2 separate regions of the Homo sapiens genome follow, and region 1 is linked to region 2. The links are contacts of gene promoters, found by promoter capture Hi-C in blood cells and fetal thymus (Javierre and others, 2016). All regions are on one chromosome and are shown on one strand. The core of a region is centred on a gene start or on the middle of the fragment in contact, and the rest is flanking DNA. Distances in the headings are between cores, read along the strand shown.

Region 1 (7,275 bases), core at 2,721-5,220, 220 kb after region 2:
ACAGATTTCCCAAAGGAGCTTTTCTCTTATTCCATGTCAAATAGCACACTGATAGCAAGGGGGTGAATAAAAACAAAAAATAATAAGTGCAGTCCCAAATAATACTTAGCTCCTCTCCTAACTACTGCCTGAATGTGGGGTTCTTCAACAGTCCAGGATGGCATTTGGTCCCTGAAAGGGTGTGGCTTCCTTAGTGGTGGTGGTGGGTAGCTTACAGCTAACCCACTACAAGCCTGATCTGGATGACAAACTGAGTGGGGAGATGTCCTAGCCCCTTTGAATTCTGTCCTTAAAGCTTATGTGGCTTCCAGTGGTTTTACTTTGGGACCCTACCAGTTTTTTCTGTTGTTTTATGTAGAGAGACAAAAAGCAAGCAAGCACAGTTTCTAAATAAGTAGAGGCTTTTAGCAGGGAATTTTCAGGTGGTATGCTTTCTTCCCTGTTAGAGATATGCAGCTTATCTCTTGGAAGTGGCACAGAGACTTCACCTACCTTGCTTAAAAATATTGACAATAGGCATCATCTGCTAATCTCATGGGTTTCCTAGGAAAAGGAAAGATTGCTACGTGGCAGAGTCTGGGTTTCTCAGCCTCTATTTAGTGGATTTTCTTGAAGGTCTCCCATAACAGTGTGGAAAGGGCAATATGACATTTGTCATCCTTGCTCTAGACTAATTCTATAAAAATGTGCTTACTCTTTTAATTATTGGGATGTTGGGGGAATGTGATGACTTTTCTTTGGCTATCATTTTGGGATGATGAAAGTTTGAATCCTTTGTGTTCAGATTACAAAGAAAAGGGCTTCGCACAAGCCAACTTATGAAAACTTACAGAAGAGTTTAGAGGCAATGAAGTCTCATTGTCTGAAGAATGGAGTCACTGACCTCTCCATGCCCAGGCAAGGAAATCCATGGTCCTAAATGGAGATTTAATTGATTGGTGGGGTTTACTATCTTACCCAAAGACAAACAACTTAAAAGCTTAACCCAAAATATAGATTTAAAGGTGGACAAAAGTCAAAATTTTGTAAAACCACCAGTGAACCAGTTGTCTGGCTTTAGACTAAGGCACAGCCATTTTCTAGCTTGAGTTGAATGAATCAGGACAATTACCTTGAAATATACATCTGCCTCAGCCTGCTTAGCAGAGAGCGACCATTGTCATTCAGCTACATTTGTTGAATTCTCAGCACCCTCTGCTTGAAGCTTGGCCTTTATTCCTAAAGCAATGTAAGCTAAAGAATCAAGACTGAGCAATGGTGGTTTTCCTCTTGGACCACTTCCCATCTCCCAAACCTATTACTTTGCGTCAAGAAAGTTGTAAATTATCATTCCCTTTTATACTGCACACTTGTTTTGGTCAGTATGGGTAATAGCCAGAGGATCTGTCCCTGATGTAACTTCTTAGACTTTAGCTATTGGGAATTTAGGGAATGACATTGAGGGTTCAGTAGTCCCTTTGCTTTCTTTTCAGGAAATGGGCCTCACCTCTTTTCTTCCTGTCACCCTGGTAGTTTTGAGTCAATGCTGAGCATACATGCAGTTTTATCTTGCGCCCCACATTACTTTGCATATGGCCTCAAATGTCCCTTATTTTACACTGGTCTTTGATATATTTATGGTGTACATACATATCAGAAACTTTTTTTTTAATCACAATTCCTTATGGACTTAATTATCACATTATGACATGAAATTACCAATTTTAGGTCTCTTTTTTCCCTAGGCGTGTTGAGGATCACTAGAGTAACATCTTGGAAGGTGCCAAGTAGTAGAGTTTTATGGACTGAGTTTATTCTTACCAGGGTGTTGCAAAGACCTTACTCCTGGATTGCAACTATCTTACCATTTCCCAGCATTCCCTCTTGACTTTCTTTTTTGCAGATCCTGTACCTCATTCCTCTTCTCCTTACTTTCGTTAACATTCTGTTACCATAAGTGCATTTTTAAAATACCAACCTTTCACCATCCATCCACAGCCAATTTTAGTCAGTAGTCATAGAGGGATAATGAGTCTCTAATGTCATGACAGTTACACATTTCTAAATGTAGCATGAAATAGTTGGAAAGTAGTATCTTATTAGGCAAACAGAAGTGATAGTTTTTGGATGTTAGAGCTGTCTAGGAATGGTCTTCGGTGACTCACAACAAGAATTGACTTCCAAACTCCTACCATGGTTGCCCATAAGGGTGTCAGACTAGATTATTTGTTTTTATGCTTTGAGTGGATATAGCTTAAAAGAGAGGAGCAGTTTCCTAGATACTTTCGTTACCATCAATGGAGATATTTTGTCTTTTTCAGGATTGGATGTGGTCTTGATCGTCTGCAATGGGAAAATGTATCTGCGATGATCGAGGAGGTATTTGAGGCAACAGACATCAAAATTACTGTGTACACACTCTGAACCAGTGAACATTTTGGATGTTTCCGTGTTCTCCTGTGTCATCTCTACTGGGCCATAGGACCGGGCAAACCTACCTTAAAATAGGCAGAGGAAAGTTTCATGAGAAGTAGTGTGTTTAACAAGACAGACTTTGGTTGCTGTATTCAAGTATTTGGATTATGACTGTGGAGGAGGGCTTGCTTAAGATATGTGGTTGTGTTTTTTTGTGGAAAAGTAAGGAGTTAGGTGGCTTGATAATAGGCAGGGAAACCAGATTGTCGGGACTATGACCTTTTTCTCCAGTATGCTACCTGATTTGTTTGGCTGGCCACTAGGTGGCAGCATTGGTTCTACTTCTCTGCTTTTTAAGAGAAATTTCAGGAAGGATGATCATTCCAGTTAGTTTGGCATTTTTTGTCGTTTGTGCACATAACTTGGTGTTATCCTTATGTCATCAGATTCCTCCTAGGGGAGAGTTTTTGTTTTAATTACAAAATTAAATTCTACATTGTTACCAAGAAATTTGTGGTGATAAAAATGGAAAAATAAAAATTTGGGGAGTTAGTGAGGTTCTGTGCTTATGTCTATTTGTTCTGGACATGGGTAATGGAGGGTTCACCTGCAACTTAATTTCAAACAGTCAGACAAAGGGTCCAAGCGGGAGGAGAAGCAAAGTGAGAAATAAGAGATAAAAATAGACAAGTCAAAAGGCAGGTTTTTAGAATCTCCTCATGGTGAACTTTTTCTCTCTTTTGTCCACTGCATGGTTTCTGTGATTGAACCTGCCTGAATTTAATCATGAAAACAAGTGAAATAATGTATGTTAAATGCCTGGCAGAGTACTTAGCACAGACTAGTGACCCAATAAATCAGTGATTGTCAAAAATCCTTATGAGTCTTCTTTAAAAAAATAAAGGCCACTTCCTCTCAAAAAATTCTCATACCTGTCATCTCAGCACTTTGAGAGGCTGAGACTGGAGGATGACTTGAGCCCAGGAGTTTGAGACAAACCTGGTTAACATAGCGAGACCCTGTCTCTACAAAAAAAAAAGAAATTAAAAATTAGCTGGGCCTGGTGGTGCAGGCCTGTAGTTCCAGCTACTCTAGAGGTTGAGGCGGGAGGATGGCTTGAGCCTGGGAGGTTGAAGTTGCATTGAGCTGTGATTGTGCCACTGCACTCCAGTGTGGGCAACAGAGCAAGACCCTATCTCAATTAAAAAAAAAAATTTGGTGGTGGAGTGGGATGGCCACTTTTGTGTTTTTAACCTCCATAGAAGATTTGGATGTGCAGCCAGCTGGGGTCTAAATATTAGTCCTCTTTTCTTCCGAAGCTGCAAAGACCAGTCGTCTATTGTGGTCATGGTAGGAAAATAAAGTTCATGGATTTAGCCAATGGTTCAGTATCAGAGCTATTCGGGAAACTAGACATTTTCTTGTTTTCCCTTACAGTGGTGTTGAGAGTTAAAACAGCCAGACTTGCTATTGATTTTCTCCCTAGAGTGACTTTGGGTCTGTCACAGGACTTGCTGCTTTCCCAAGTATAAAAGAACAACTGTATTTTAGAAGGGGCTGGTTAAAACACCAGGAAAGTACTGGTTAAATATAATCTTTGTACTTTAGACTGTGTTCTTATCACATATCAGCCTGATAAGAGGCAACAGTTTCAAAAAAGTATTTCACTTTTGTATTTCTAGGTGGAACAGACAAGTTCTTCATGTTGTTGGGGTAGGGGCAGTGGAGGGTCAAGTTCATTATCAAACTTTTAGATTGAGGCTTTTCTTGAAGCATTGCTTTTGTCCACATAAAGTTGAAGGGAAAAAGGAAGGAGAGATTATCTAAATACACAAAATTGAAAGTGAGAGTGGGGGATAAGAAACTTAAAGAAACTTAAAATATTTTGCTTAACTCTGCAATTACAGATGCTCCTCAACTTAGGTCTATGTCTGGGTAACCCCATCTTAAGTTGAGTTCAGTTGAAGGGTGTACTGAATGTGTATGGCTTTTGCACCGTTGTAAAGTCCAAAAATTGCAAGACAAACCATTGTAAATTGAGTACCATCTGTAAACCTTAACACAAGTCAAAACATGGATTTTCTAGGCTTCCTTTACTTTTAAAGAGATTATGGTTATTATTATTATTTTTTTCTTGGCGTTTGAGCCTTGATTCTTTAGACAAAACCTAGTCTCATTCAGGATTGGCTGTAAGTGGAATTCTGGGACTTAGCAGGAATGTGATAAAGCACTTTGTCATTTGCCGATAGTAGTCTTGGGTCAAATTCCGACGACTTATCACACTTGAAGCCTGAGGAAAGGAGGCATGCCCTGGTAATCAGAGTGAACACATTATTCCTGGAAACCTAGTTAGAGTTTGGCAAACACCCGGAAATTCACCTGTGAATTTTTGCTTCCACATAGGACTCAAACAAACCTTTAAAAAAAAAAAAAGAGAGACTTGACATCATCCTGCCATTACCATCAAACACCATGTATTGAATACTTTTAAATGATTGTATATCTGAACATTAAACTACTACTTTTCACCCGCTCCTCTCTAATAAAGAAGCTAGTTGCTTATTAACTGGCATTTGGGATGTGGCTACCTTAGATTTCTCATGCTTTTTGTTCCACCTTCTGCCCTATTACTTGCCTTCAGAGAAGGGAAAGGCCCTCACTTGATTGTCGTAAGAAGTCTGTATGGGAGAGTTATTCTGCATTGTCTAGGCAAGTCTTGGTTTAACCATGGCTTGGTTCATAGCCTGGAGTGTCCCTGTGTCTGGACTAGCTCGCTTGTCTGTGGCAACTTCCAGATGTTCAAGTTTCTTAAAAATCTGGCCACGGGAAAAACACACCACTTCTTTTATTAATGTTGCTGTTTTTCTTTTTTTAAAAAAATACCCAACTTAACATAAAATGCATATTTCAGAAATCTAAACCTCGGGTCTGAGGCTGTTTGTGTTAAGCAGCCCCCTTGGGTGAGCAATTAGGACCTTCAGTCCCATAGTTGACTGGAGCCCATGTATGGTTGCATTTCTCTCCTTGCAGGTCACTTTCGTCCTTCCCGAGAGCAGCATTAGAGAGAGAGTCACAGCCTAAATAAACTACAGCATGAGAAGTATATTTCAAGTCCTCTAAGGGCCTTGTCCAGTATGATTGGTTGGTGTCAAATGTTGTCCAGCTCCAAATGGTATTAGGAAGACAGGCATGTCCCAGATGGCTGTACATGTCATTGCTGTCTCTTGGTGGCAGCAGGAATACCTTGGTAAAACAAACAAAGAAAATGTGTTACTGAGAGCTCTGCTGGCCCCGAACAATGACTAGTTTCTTTTTGAACTAAGGTTTCTGTGTGCCCTTCCCAACAAGTCCCTGGATTTCTCCTCCATAGTTTCCTTTGCAGGATTGGGTAAATTTACCAGGATTGACTAAACCAGAAGCCAGTCTTTCGTTCATGTTTTGATGTGGTTTACACAGAAAAAGCCCCAGAAGAGATCTGGTTTAACTCTGGTCTTTTGACTAAATATAGGATTAAATACTATTTTGTCATTAAAAAAAAAAAAAAGAAAGATGAAATAAGTATGTAAAATAAGACACTTTATTTAACAAATGCTCATTTCTCAAGATTATTTTAATTAAGCAGGGTTGTTCTTTTGGGCTTTTAGATTACACTCTTATCTCATGCCAGTTTTTTTTTTTTTAACTTGATATATCTTAACCTTTCCCTTCACAAACATGAGCAATTCAAATAGAAGACAGGGAAGCATGTTAATGGGTCCAGATAATACAGTTATATTTGAAATCACTGAAAAAAAAAAAAAAAAAAAAAAGCTCTAAGGACTTGCTAGTTAGGCACCTGGGCCCTTGACTCTGAAAGATGTCTGAAAGGAAAATATACTGGGGTTAAATTTTAAGCTGCCGGTTAGTCTGTAGAATCTATGTTGGGTTTATAATTACAGTGATAGTACATACACTAACAAAATCTTCAAGGAATTCTAAAAGTTAAATTTTATATTCTCAGAGGGCACCCTCAGAAATCTGTTTTGACTACTGTTCACCACTATAAAGTGTCTTATTTTATGTGAGCAGAGTACCACACAGTATACCCTATCATAGGCTCACTGACTTCAGTGACTGGGTCCTGCTTTTTAAAAGAAATGGCTGAAAGTTGTATCTTCATGGGTTGGCAAATGCTCAGCTTGAGAATGATCAGGTGCCCATGTGCATGTCTAATAGAAAACACCTGCCAACATCAAGCTCTGGAACATTGATATTTCCTAAACGTGTCTATGAAGCGACATCTTCTCTTAAGGGTGTTAGGAGTGAGAGAGACCAAAAGTAAATTATCTTCATGGAAGCTTGTTGTTTTCATGTTTTAGTAATATGTGAGTTGTTGCAGGATTAAAGTTGGGTAAGAGTGTCGTGAGTACCCCTCCTCTATTACTGGAAGATTTTGATCAGTAACTGGGGCCTTGCAAAGGGGGCTTCGTCATAGCATTTCTGTAGGCGCAAACTCAATCAGACTAAATGTAAAAAAGATAGTAAAGGATCCTTTAGCCCTCTTTCCTGAGGGTAATTAGCCTGTTTCTGTTAGAGTTTAATTTACCCTCAGCAAGAGGCCAAATTGGCCTTAATTGTGTCCTAATTATTTGCTTAAATAGCTAATCTTTCTCCTATCACCTCTTGATATCTGTAAGAGGTTACTTCTGAGCTGCTGCCTACTTTACAAATGTCTTTTTAACTCTTTAAATGTTCCTGCATGGACTAGCTTGTTGCTATATTATCCCCATTCCTGCATTCGACATCCTCCATGAATTCTACTGAGGTCTTCTCAACATAAGGAAAATGTTCCCGTATTGTATTTTCACACAGCAATTGTTGGTCTCCTTCAAAGTGTAGCCA
Region 2 (7,143 bases), core at 2,689-5,188:
CTGTCTTGTATGTCCTTGGGAGCTTGACCTTGTAACCATGTGGCCATGTTCTCTTTTCACAATGGCAGGCTGGGTTCAGGGTTTGATTCCTGGCTTGGGTATAAGTCCTCTATCTTCTGTCTATGTATTTATATGAATTATGTGTGTGTAATATAAAATAGCTAGATTAATTGGTTTAAAAATAAGTGCTTAAATCAAATATTTTGTCAAAAAAGTTAAAAAGTGTAATGTCTTTTGGTTCATATGACTTAAGTAATCTTTGGGAAATAAAAACAGTTTTAAAGATTATTGGTAAAATAAAAATATTTTCAAAAATGTAAATATTTGGTCTAAATTATGCAGGTCAGATATTAAGTTTCCTAAATGCTTTAAGGTCATAAACTGCTTCTTTGACTTTTAAAAGTTGTTCAATTTATTTTGGAGCATTGATTCTAGATAAGGCCTGGGGACATGTGAAATTAGCCATGCCCCCTAGCTATGCTAAGAAAGTTCTTCATAAAATGCCACTGTGATTCTTAACTATTCAACTTGTCTGCTTTACTGCTAGGTGAGGCCTCAGACACGTGGAGTGCTCTTGTTTGACTGTGTGAGTGAGCTGGTTATTCAGTCATCGTCTCTCTGATTAACACTTCTTTACCTTGGTTTGAGTGGAGATTCTGAAACTCGCTTTGTCTTTGCTGGCTGGTTCCCTGCTGGACTCTCGATAGGGGCATTAGAGGGAGATTGGGAGGCTGGAGGAGGAAGACAGGACATGCTCACTGATTCCTATTTCATTCTCTTTCATTGTGAGTAGCCTCAGTGATGCTTTTCACGGGCAACAGTGACTGGTTCCAGTTTGCAGTTTTCCCCACTCTCAGAAGTAGTCTCATTGGGCCTCCTCAGAGATATCAGCACCAGGGTCACACTATCCTCAGAGATCTGTGTTCCAGTTCCATGTGGGCCCCTCCTCTGAGCCAGAAAAGAAGATATTTTATATGCAATCTCATTGTTAAAAAATGTTACACATATATTCTAGCTAGGTTAGATTAACCAATCTTTATTAAGGAAGAAACTGCTAATTTACCCCATAGTGAAGATCGAGACCTACTGACTTGGGGCAGTGACTTATTGAAGACAAAACAAAACAGAATAATATTGGTATTATTTCATTAATTGTATCAATGTTGAAACTGTATTGATTTCATAATAGCTCTGAAGATGAAGTTTGGCAAATATGGAAAGGTTCATGGTACCCAAAGACTAAATCTTCCTAGTGCTAGAGGCCACCCTATGAGCAAGCATGGAAATGGGACATGTGACCCAGCCTTAGTAAAATTAACAGGAACCATAGGTCACAAATGACAGTGCTCTTCTATGAGAAGCCTTAAGAAATAATATCTTGTTGGGAGCAGTAGCTTGAGAATTTAAAGAGACCCTAATAGTTAGGCAGGAATATCGTCCTGCCTATTCAGCCTGAAGAAGTTACTGATCGGGTCATTAAACTCCTCAGAAAAATAAAGTGGTAAGGATTAGAGAATGCTGCCATGTGCTGCACAAGGAAGTTTTGGTCCATGACAGACTGCATATATGGTGGAGGTCCCATAAGATTATAATGTCATAATACCGTATTGTTACTATGCCTCTTCTATGTTTAGATACACAAATACTTACTATTGTGTTACAAATGCCTACAGTATTGAGGACTGTAACATACTGTGCAGGCTTGCAGCCTAGGAATATGCTTTACTTTGATTTATGTTCAAGTATCATTCTCCCTTAGATTTTGTGAGGTTGAAAGGTATTTGTCTAAACTGGATGTGAATGGAGAGGGGGCCTCCGGAGAGCAAAGGGCCCTCTGTTCCCCTTCCTAATATTAATAGGCTATACCATACAGCCTAGGTGTACAGTAGGCTGTGCCATGTTAAGTTCGTGTAAGTGCACTCCATGATGTTCCTGCAACACAAAATCACCTAGCAACACATTTCTCAGAATGTATCTGTCATTAAGTGACACGTGACTATTTGCACTGTTGACCTCAAGTACACAAATAGATCAGACAAGTGGAGAAAGACCTCATTCTACTTCATTCTAATTTAAATGCAGGTGCTGTCCGTAGTTAGGAAAATGTGAAGGAGCAATCAGCCTCCAGTGATATTCAAGTCTAATTAAAAATTCTTCTTGGACTGTTTAGTTCAAAGCTCCCTCTTAATCTTCCAGGAGCTTAATCCTCCACACAAAGTATATGAAGACACAAAAATGTAGAAAGTATGTGAAATAGCTATTATTTAAGTGTGGAATATTAATTTTGTTGTAAGGAGGGGATTTATTCACTGAAATAAACTTTATTAATTTGACTCATCGCCACAGAAGTCACGTAGGCTCCTCTCTGAGTCAGAAAATGTCAAGAGCTTTCTGTCTATTTTTCCTCTTTAGGGACTGCTTGAGTACAGCAAAAGGAGGGGCCAGCAGATTTCAGTTCAAGCATGTTTGAAGCCTGTTTTCCGACATTATTTGTAGAACAAAAAATAAACATAGTAAAATCTCCACTACAAATGATCTCTATAAAGTGTAATAACATGATTTAAGTTTATGTATTATTTTCTATATTTTATAAATTGCTGCATTGAACAGCTTTAATAAAAAAAATTAAAGTTAGCCTTGAAAATTTTTTTGGTTGTTGTTTGTTTTAATTTACAGACATGATAGTACCTTTTAGCTGTTCCTATACTTGAGTAGCAATCAATTTGGGTGTAAAATATTAGGGTCATAATGTTCTTTATACCTCATCCCACTCTCTCATGGTATTTGTTACTCAGAGAAGAAATCTGAGTCCTGATTATTTCAATTCCTTTGAAGAAACCAAGTTATTTTTTTGTTTATTTAGCAGTAGGAATCTTTTTATTTAAATTTAAAAATTTTCACCTGGAAACTTCCTATTCTAGGTCTCACTTTGTGAATTTTTTCCTTGCCCATGTTGAACTCTCAACCTCCAATTTTAGATTTCTTCTCAGACCTGGAAAGCATATTTTTTAAGATAAAATTTTTAATCTTGCTTGTGATCCACCATTCCATTTTATGCTTTAAGGACATCTCTGATTTGTAGATTGGAATTCTGTGATTTGTCCTCCCTTAAATTTCTGAGCTCTTCTAAATGTCTTTATTCATTTCACATTTGGGAATATTTCTGAAGTGAATCCTCTCCATTATTGATTTGATTTTCACACTGTCAAATCTGTCTTTTCTTGCTTCTAGTACAAAACCTGCTGGATTTTTTCTTCTTGCTTCAGCGTCTTGAACCAAGTTTCCTTTTTAAATCTAAGTCTGTTCTTGTTGGGTGGTGGCAGTGTCCTCTCAAATTGTTTCTGGGGTCCCTACACCCCCGTGAGCTCCCAGGCCATGTCTGTGGCAATGCTGAAGGACAAATGCAGGGTGTGGCCCTCCTGGTGATGAAGAGGAGGTGCACCCCAGGTCACCAGAAGCCAAGAGAACCCACGGGGCTGAGCAGGGCAGGATGAAGCAACATGTTCTCACAAAAACCCTGAAGATGAGATACGATTGTCGCAGCCTCTCCCTATGTGGGCCTGACTCTCTTCACTACACTAAACTGGATGTGAATGGAGAGGGGGCCTCTGGAGAGCAAAGGGCCCTCTGTTCCCCTTCCTAATATGAATGCCTTACTTTGATTTACATTCAAGTATCATTCTCCCTTAGATTTTGTAAGGTTGAAAGGTAATTGTCATTATTACCACAGAAAGGAAAACTGGAGTTCAAAGAAACTTAACTGAGAAGTGAGTCTTGGTCTCTGTATTATTGTGTTGATGTCAGGAGTCAGAGCAACTGGTGATGAAACAGAACCCAAACTCAGTGACTCCCAGGAATGGCCTCATATCCTGTTGTGCAACTTTCCGAAGCCTCTAGGTCATTGTGGTGCCTTGTAGCTGTCCCGGGAGCCCTCAGCAGCAGTTGGAGCTGGTGCACAGGAAGGATGAGGAAGACCAGGCTCTGGGGGCTGCTGTGGATGCTCTTTGTCTCAGGTAAGACAAGGAAGAGGACTGAGCAGGGGAGGCGTTTGGTCCAGGATCTCGGGGAGCCCTTTTCTGTTGAAGCTTCAGAGCACAGGGCCATCCAAGATAGAGCCAACCAGTAGTTATGGCAGACCGTGCTGCTCTACCCAGAATTGGGAGAACATGCAGTGTCTGCACACAAAAGTAAAAGAAGGAGAGAGTCAGGGAAAAAAGATGTCTGTGCATGTCGATGTTGTTAGAGACATGCAAAGCCTAGTATGGGAATAATGATAGAGTAGATCTCATCATGGCATGATCTACAATAAGTTTATTTGATGTTGAAATTTTTTTCTTATATTCCATCATGATGTGTTTGATGTTGACAATCTGTTAAACCCAAAAGACAGAATTGATTTAACAAATATTTCCCAGGGGTCTACTATGGGACAGCAAATATACTACTGCTGAGGACACAGACGTGACCAGAAGAGGCTGGTGCTCATTTTGGTGGAGGTGATCATCCCAGCTCTCCATGGCACGCTGGGGTTGGAGGGCACAGTTGCTGAGGCTCAGCAGAGCCGGCGCATGCCCCAGCTCTTTCTTGTGTCTCCTCTTACGATCCGCACAGCTCACATCTGCACCCAAACCAGAAGCATGCGGGCTTTATTCACTCCTCCTCCTAATCCTTATGAATAACAGGAGGAAAGTGTCAATATGAGTTAAAAGCGAGGCTTGCCTTGGGAAGGCATGAAAAATCAGGGAGAGGTATCCTCCTGGGCTCTCTACTTTGAGCAAAGTCATGGACAACTGCCTTGAAGAGCCTGTGCTCAGACATTGCTCTGGGTCTTCTTGGAGCTGGGGTGATAATCTAGATGGGCAGAAGGGAGTTAGCTCCTCATGGACAAGTGCATTTCCTTGTGTTTGATTCATGTTTTTCTGAAGGAGAACTGGGAGATGGCAGAGGGCTGAAGGTTATGTACCTGTGTGAGAGAAAACCAGTGGTATATATTTCATTGTGCCCTGTGGGGATAGGTTAGGGGTTAACCTCAATGCTCCTTGCAACTGGATACTTATTCACACTTGGGCCAGGACTTCTCTAATCCCTATCAGACTGTGTTGGACCATGTAGCTCAGTGCTTTAGGTGGAACCAGAGTCCTTGGGTTTGAATCCTGGCTCTAGTACTTAACTATGGTGAGACTTTGGGCAAATCACTTAATCTGTCTGTGCCTCAGTTTCCTTATCTATAAAATGGGGAGAATAATGGTGTCAACTTTTTACTTTATAAAGATTAAATAAGATAGTCTTTAAAAACCCTTAGCACATAATACTTAATAGGTAGTATTTGCTACCCTTTTAATTAACATATTCAAAGGAATTCCCTTCTTGCAATTGTGCACAGACAGCTCAGCAGCCTTCATTTCTTATTGTCTCCTTCCTTCTGTGAGAGACAGGCAAGTTTGCAAACTCAGTCACCTGTAACTCCCACCTTCCCTGGGGAGCTGGCAAATAAAAGAGATTTATCTGTAACATTAACTTCAGAGGTTAGGGCTTCAGTGGTGGCAACTTGAGGATGGAGTCTGTGTGTCTTCCAAAGAGCCCAGCACAGTGCCTATGATAGAGAAGTCTCCCAGCCAGTCTGATGAGTGAGTGAACAAATGAGGGAACCAGGCTTGGTTTCAGACAACACTCAGCCTCTGGTCAACAGTCTCTTGGAGGCACATTCCTGACTGGAGTGTGTGGGAGTTGCCCAAGAGGTCTGTTTCCGAGGTTTCCCTAGAAACTGGAGTCTGCTCCCAGAAGAACTGGCTTTCAAGACTGATTTCACCTTTAAACTCCTTGTGAGTCCCTGAGTTGAGTCTTCCTAAGGTCAGGCAGATCTGTTGGCCTATCCTGGGGTGGGCATGCCAGGGGGCTCCATGAAAGGGTAAGCACTTGTCATTTTTCACCAGGCCTGCAAGGACCTAAGTGTGTGGTATTAATAACAGCAGTACTAGTGTTACCGTGACCCACACAGTAGACCCAGCAGCACTGTCTAGCCTGTTATTTGGTGCTCCATGGGGGAAGGTACCCCAGGCCTGAGTGGGTAAGCTACAGTCTCTCAGCAAACTTAGAGAGCCCTGTGTGTCCAGCTGAAAACACGGACCTTGGTCTTCTCACTTCCGCTCTGCTTGGCCTCCCATCAGCAAGGCTCCCTTGGACAAGGCCAGATGAGCATCCCCAATTCTAGATGGTTAACCCAGTTCGGACTCCAAGAATGTGATGGAAACTATTGTCACTGTAACCCAGGGGTTCTCAAACATGGCACTATTGACATTTGGGGTGGGATGATTCTTTGTTGTGGGGGCTGTCCTGTGCACTGTAGATTGCTTAGCCTGGTATCCATTAGATGTTAGTAGCATCCACCCCTCTCCCTGGTTATAACAACCAAAAATGTCTAGATATTGTCCAGTGTTTCAGGGAGAGTTGTGGCGGGGAGCAAAAATTGCTCCCCAGTGGAGAACCACTGCTGTGACTCCGTGACATCAAAAATAGGAGGGGGCATTTCTTGGCTCAGGTAACTGGGAAGTACAAGGGGTGCTCCTTTGGAGCACAGCTGAGTCCATGACTCAGATAACGTGGGTTTTTTTCTCTCTTTCTTTCTCTCCCCTCCACTATCCCCCTCTTCCTTCCTCCCACTCACTTTCTGCCTGTTTAGCCATTCTCGGGCAGCCTATTCCTACGTGGTAGAAAGTTTCACATAATAAAGTTTCACATCTCATTGACCTGTGAATCCCAGCAAGAAGCATTTCCATTAATGGCTACAGCAGTCTCAGGGAGGACTCTGATTGGTCCAGCTCAGCCATGTGCTCCTTCCTAAACCAATCAGCCTGGCAGGGAGATGGGGTACTTTGTGTATGTGTGTGTGTGTGTGTGTGTTTTTTTTTTTAACAGAGTCTTGCCCTGTGGCCCAGGCTGGAGTGCAGTGTTGTGATCTTGGCTCACTGTAACCTCCACCTCCCGGGTTCAAGTGATTCTCCCACCTCAGCCTCCCATGTATCTGGGACTACAGGTGTGCACCACCATGCCTGGCTAATTTTTTTGTATTTTTAGTAGAGGCAAGGTTTCACCATGTTGGCCAGGCTGGTCTCGAACTCCCGACCTCAGGTGATCTGACCTCCT

Evidence for each region. Contacts are between HindIII fragments. The CHiCAGO score rates a contact against its expected background, and 5 or more counts as called.
Region 1: a contact is called between a fragment that was not itself captured here and the fragment with the promoter of TREM1 in region 2, in 1 of 17 cell types (neutrophils). The highest score is 5.3, in neutrophils.

Annotation. Positions count from the first base shown.
Region 1 is chr6:41,062,463-41,069,737 of GRCh38, reverse strand. It overlaps APOBEC2 (apolipoprotein B mRNA editing enzyme catalytic subunit 2), which reads right to left. Exons shown (of 3, transcript NM_006789.4): 3 at 4,847-5,637. It overlaps OARD1 (O-acyl-ADP-ribose deacylase 1), which reads left to right. Exons shown (of 6, transcript NM_001329686.2): 5 at 785-897; 6 at 2,301-4,966. The coding sequence ends at 2,403. Among named protein-coding and RNA genes, the nearest start is that of OARD1, 6.3 kb to the left of the region's middle. The HindIII fragment of the contact is 5,527 bases long and covers 1,207-6,733 here.
Region 2 is chr6:41,283,477-41,290,619 of GRCh38, reverse strand. TREM1 (triggering receptor expressed on myeloid cells 1) reads left to right here and starts at 3,938. Exons shown (of 4, transcript NM_018643.5): 1 at 3,938-4,013. The coding sequence starts at 3,965. RefSeq lists a silencer at 1,864-1,953. The HindIII fragment of the contact is 6,846 bases long and covers 1-4,087 here.